Linked DNA regions of Homo sapiens: region 2 is linked to region 1. Evidence: promoter capture Hi-C in human tissues and cell types (Jung and others, 2019). All regions are on one chromosome and are shown on one strand. The core of a region is centred on a gene start or on the middle of the fragment in contact, and the rest is flanking DNA. Distances in the headings are between cores, read along the strand shown. Region 1 holds the start of ASH2L (ASH2 like, histone lysine methyltransferase complex subunit). Region 2 has its middle 80 kb from the start of TACC1.

Region 1 (2,735 bases), core at 49-2,548:
AAAAATGTAAAAACAAGGCCGGGCGCGGTGGCTCACGCCTGTAATCCCAACACTCTGGGAGGCTGAGGCGGGAGAATCAACTGAGGTTAGGAGTTCGAGACCAGCCTGGCCAACATGGTGAAACCCCGTCTCTACTAAAAAGACAAAAAAAAGAAGCCAGGTGTGTTGGCAGATGCCTGTAATCCCAGATACTCGGGAGGCTGAGGCAGGAGAATCGCTGGAACCCGGGGGGAGGAGGTTGCAGTGAGCCGAGATCGCGCCACTGCATTCCAGCCTGGGCGACAGAGCAAGGCTCCGTCGCAACAAAAAAAAAAAAAAAAGAAGAAGAAGAAATAACTAAAACAAACCCTATTTTGTCTTGCAAACAACTAAAAATACTTACTAGTGTATCTTTTCCATTAGATGATTCTGTCTCCAAGCCACCGCTTACATCGACCAAGTTTGCCTCCCTATAAGATAATGAAAGCGCTCAAGTAAGAATTCTCAAGACAAACCTCAAAATGCCTATTCCCAAAAATGATGATCAAATTACAGCCGAACTTCATACTCCTGCAGCTTTTTCAGCTAAGCCTGATCTCAGACTGGATGCCCAAGGTACTGTCAGGATACTGAGAAGGTGGACATGTCAGACAGTCGCGGACCCACGGAGCACAGGGAAGCCTAACCGGCCTTTACAGTCAAATCTACCTGGGTTAGAGTTGGTCCTGGGAGAGGTTCAAAGAGAGGCAGCTCTCCCACCCTGTTTTCAGAGTGACCGTTACTTCTTCCAGTCTGGCACTGCAAAGTGGTTTCTTTTCTGGAATATGTGAAGGCCTCCCGTTAAAGTGTGAGCTACCAGCTTCCTGCCAGGGTGCAAGGATCAGAGATAACGACAGGAGCCTCAGCTCCCACCGCCCGTGAAAGGTGCGGAAGGGGCGTTATCCGAGATATGCTTGAGAGGGGACGGGCCAAGCGGCGCAGAGGCAGGGCGAGCCATTGGCGGCGGGGCCTGGGTTCGCAGGGGGCGGGCGGCAGGGCTCCAGGAGCCGCGGGATTCGCGAGGGGCGGGCCTCCCTCCCGCGTCTTCCTCGGGCGGCAGGACCTCTTACCCGCCTTCAGCCTCCCCGGAACTGGGCTCAACTGTCGGAGCAGCAGAGATCCCCTCTCCAGGAGGAGCGGCTGCTCCCGCTGCCACCGGCTTCATCTCCCCCTCTTCTGCCCCTGTTGCATTTGCGACCGCTCCTGGGCCAGGCCCGGCACCCGCTTCCTGGCCAGGTCCTGCTCCTGCCGCCGCCATCACGGCCACCCCTGGACTTCTCGCGAGAATACTCTCTTCTCTCGCGCGCGTTGCTGTGTGACGCTGTAGTCTTCAAACAGAAAAAGCCCGCGGTGCGTCCACCGCCTGCCTGAGGAAGCATAATTCCACGACCGCTTTAAGGCCAGGCGCGCGGGCAGAGGTGGGCCGGCCTCCCGCGCCGGCGGTGGCCGCGGGCCTGGCAGGCTGAAGGTGGAGGAAGCTAGATGGTTAGTGCGGCTCTCTGGAGGACTTCCTTTCGAGTCAGGGACTGACGCGGCGTATTTTCGTGGCTACGACTGGATATTCTGCGCAGAAGAGGGTCCTTGAGAGCGCTGGCCGTGCCGTGCCGCCAAACACTCCTCACCACCGAATGTGGGAAACGTCTTCCTTGGAGTCTAGCACTCCCTGCCCGCCCCGGATGGAATTTGGTTTTCTGCGCAGGGTCGCCCCTTGGAGCCCGTTTCCAAATGATTTTAAGAGGGAAGGGAATCTAGGGAGGCCGATTCCAGGGGCGAGGGTGGAAAACCCAGGCCGGGCAGCCGAGGAGCGGCGTGGGCACTAGAAGCGGCTCGCCGCTTCCTACTGTGAGAGGCGGAAAGCGAAGCCCCGGGGTGTGCCGGGGCACTCGGAATGTAGACAAGTTTGGTGCCCAGCGAAAGGAAGAGGTGTGGACTGAAAGTACGAACTTGGGAAGTCATCAACAGTAGCTGGTGGCTGGCATCAGTGGAGTGAGTTGAGTCTTTCAGAGCCATGGTCTCCAAACTCGAGAATGCAAACCTCTGAGAGTGTTGCGGCCAGGAACGTTTTCAGGACACCAGTGTTTATCCTATATCCTAAAATGTTGCCTAACGATAATACACTCTTCTCCCGCTTTACACAAGAACGGCGCACCCCTCGCCAATCCTCAGTCTAATCTTACTGTGATGTGTCCACCGATAGTGTAGGAATCTCTGGGCCACTGGACGCCATGGGAAATACGTAGATATTGATTTCCCAATTGGTTCTCAATTATTGGTTTTCAACAAAATTGAAGAAAGACCTAACTGAGTTGCCAGGTTACATTTTTAAAATTGATGATAAATACTTAAATCAGGGGTTGGTACTCCAAAGAGAAGCAGGATGCTTGATCTAAGTATCTCCTCCCAAATACGTAGTATTGTAGCAGTTTTAACATATGGTCGCAGAATTTTGTGTTTTCTTGTTGTTGTTTGTTTGAGACAGAGTCTCGCTCTGTCGCCCAGGCTGGAGCGCAGTGGCCCGATCACGGCTCACTGCAACCTCCACCCCAGGTTCAAGCGATTCTCCTACCTCAGCCTCCCGAGTAGCTGAGATTACAGGTATCTGTCACCACGCCCGGCTAATTTTTGTTAGTAGAGGCGGGGTTTCACCATGTTGGCCAGGCTGGTGTCGATCTCCTGACCTCAAGTGATCCACCCACCTGGGCCTCCCAAAGTGCTGG
Region 2 (2,700 bases), core at 110-2,609, 600 kb before region 1:
TCAGCAGAAAAACTCAGCAAGGCCTGTCTGCCTAGATTCTTCTTGGCCTCTCTGTGCAGAGCGCCTTCCTTCTGGGTATGGGGCAAGACACTGCTGGAATGGGAGTCTGATGACCTACAGCCAAACCAGGTAGGTCAGATTCTTTCTTTCTTTCTTTTTTTTTTTTTTTTTGAGATGGAGTTTTGCTCTTGTTGCTTAGGCTGGAGTGCAATGGCGTGGTCTTGGCTCACTGCAACCTCTACCTCCTCGGTTCAAGCGATCCTCCTGCCTCAGCCTCCCAAGTAGCTGGGATTACAGGCACCTGCCACCATGCCCAGCTAATTTTTATATTTTTAGTAGAGACAGGGTTTCACCATGTTGGCCAGGCTAGTCTTGAACTTCTGAGCTCAAGTGATCTGCCCACCTTGGCCTCCCAAAGTGCTGGGATTATGGGCATGAGCCACCGCTCCTGGCCAGATTATTCCTTTATGGCCAATTTTTACACAGAAGGCGGAGGGAAAGTTAGAGAGTAGTATTTTAGGTTTTATGGCTGGTTTGAGGGAAAGGGGTTCTGGTTTCTAAGACCTGCCAGGGTTTGGTCAAATGTAGGATGACATAATATATCCCTCATTGCATTATCATACAGAATATTTCTGCTGCCCTAAAAATCCTCTGTGTTCTGCCTATTCATTCCTCTCTCCCTTGTCTTTTTTTTTTTCGCTTAGCAATATAGGATAAACATTTTCTCATACCATCAAATATCCTTTTGAAGCCCAATTGTGAAAGCCTGCACCATTCCCTTGCAGTGGACACACCATAATGTATTAACTAAGGCCCTCAGTCCTCTTCATTTAAGTTGTTCCTATTTGAGATTCAGACACATTAGTCTTTGTTTTCATGAATCTCTGATGATTTCCCTAGGATAGATTTCTCTAAGTGGAAAGTCTATTCTAAAAGTGTTGATTAGCAAAAACTGCTTTCAAATGAAGTACTTTAGGAAAATATTGAGGTATGGAGAGGTAGCATCTTTGAGAGAGATGGAGACAGCATGAAGTGGGGCAGTTTTGGAGTCTGGATGTGTAGATTGGAAGAGGTGGGGGAGTAGAACGTGCCTCAAGGTATTGGGCTTGGGCTTTCCTTAGAGACAATGGGACATAGGCATATTTGGAAGAAGAACTAATTTGAGGGAAGAAGATAAATTTATTCAGGGACATGAAGGATTTGGGTTATTGGGGCTCAGAAAACGATACTTCAAAATGAAGGCCTCAGAAACAAAAGTTTTTCTCTGATCTTCTCTTGTCCTCCTGTCTCTCAGTCCCATCCTCCCGAGACTAGCCAGAGACACTAGAATCTAAGAACAACCCAAGGCAGGTCTTAGAAACCAGAACCCCTTCCCCCCAAAGCAAGCCATAAAAACTAAAAATATTACTCTCTAACTTTCCCCTTGCCTTCTGTTTAAAAATTTGCCATAAGGAAATTTTCCGACCTCCCTGATTGGACTGTAGGTCATAAGACCCCCTTTCCAGAAAGGGTCCTGCCCCAAACCCAGAAGGAAGGAGTGCTGCTCAGAGAGGCAAAGAAGACTCTAGACAGACAGTCCTTGCTTGGTGTTCCCACTCTGTCTATCAGCATTAGATGGTTCCCTTTTTGTCCAATCATATTATTGGACAATATTTAATATATTAATCATATATTAAATAAATGTGTATGCCTTTTCTCCAATTAATCTGCCTTCTGCAAGTTGATTTTTCAGCAAAACTTTTGAGGGCCAAGGGGAACCAGGGCGCACCTAGGGGCACAGGGGCAGAGTCTGGGCTGGAGAAGTGTATGAGTCCATTTTCACACTGCTATAAAGAACTTCCCAAGACTGGATAATTTATAAAGGAAAGAGGTTTATTTGACTCACAGTGCAGCATGGCTGGGGAGGCCTCAGGAAATTTACAATCATAGTGGAAGGTGAAGCAGGCATGTCTTACATGGCGGCAGGTGACAGAGAGCAAATGTGTGCATAGGAGGAATTGTCAAACACTTGTAAAACCATCAAATCTCATGAGAACTCACTCACTATCATGAGAACAGAATGGGGAAAGCTGCCCCCATGATCCAATCACTTCCCACCAGGTCCTGCTCTTGACACATGGGGATTATGGGAATTACAATTCAAGATGAGATTTGGGTAGGGACACAGAGCCAAACCATATAAAGAGGTAAATTTGGGAGTCATAGCAGAGATCTTCTAGTTAAAACCATGAGAGGAGCTGTCTAGGGGAGAGAGAGCCCCAGGGTGATCAGAGCCCTGCAGAAGAGCCATGCTCAGAGGCACATTTGGAAGACACAGCAAATAGGTAAACAGGGGAGAAAAAGGTGGGAAAGTGCCTTGGGAAGGCTGGGTCATAAACAATGTCAAGTACTGCCCTGAGGTCAGCAAGGCTGAGGACTAGGGGGGAAAACCATTGTGTTTGGCCAGAAGAAAGTCCTGGCAACCTCCAGCAAATGCAGTTGCAATAGAATTGTGGGGGTGGAAGTCCGCGGTTTAGGGAATAGTAGATGGAGGCATTGAGTGTCAGCCACAATGTGGAGGATTTTGGCAGCCAAAGGAAGCGGGAAGTCTGGAAATTAGCTAAAAAAGAGGAGAGTGGAGCATTGTATTTTGTGAGTGTGTGTCTTGTTCCTATTCCAAGCCAGCAGCTTCAGTCGGCTTTTCCACATCCCCTACCACAG

What was found. Contacts are between HindIII fragments. The study calls those that stand out against the background at their distance.
Region 2: a fragment that was not itself captured here is called in contact with the fragment with the promoter of ASH2L in region 1 in 1 of the 25 tissues and cell types used here (H1 embryonic stem cells).

The regions. Positions count from the first base shown.
Region 1 is chr8:38,104,092-38,106,826 of GRCh38, reverse strand. ASH2L (ASH2 like, histone lysine methyltransferase complex subunit) reads right to left here and starts at 1,298. Exons shown (of 16, transcript NM_004674.5): 1 at 1,089-1,298; 2 at 383-449. The coding sequence starts at 1,276. RefSeq lists silencers at 911-1,110, 1,441-1,530 and an enhancer at 1,201-1,330. The HindIII fragment of the contact is 26,659 bases long and covers 1-2,735 here.
Region 2 is chr8:38,705,727-38,708,426 of GRCh38, reverse strand. No RefSeq gene overlaps it. Among named protein-coding and RNA genes, the nearest start is that of TACC1, 80 kb to the left of the region's middle. The HindIII fragment of the contact is 5,844 bases long and covers 1-2,700 here.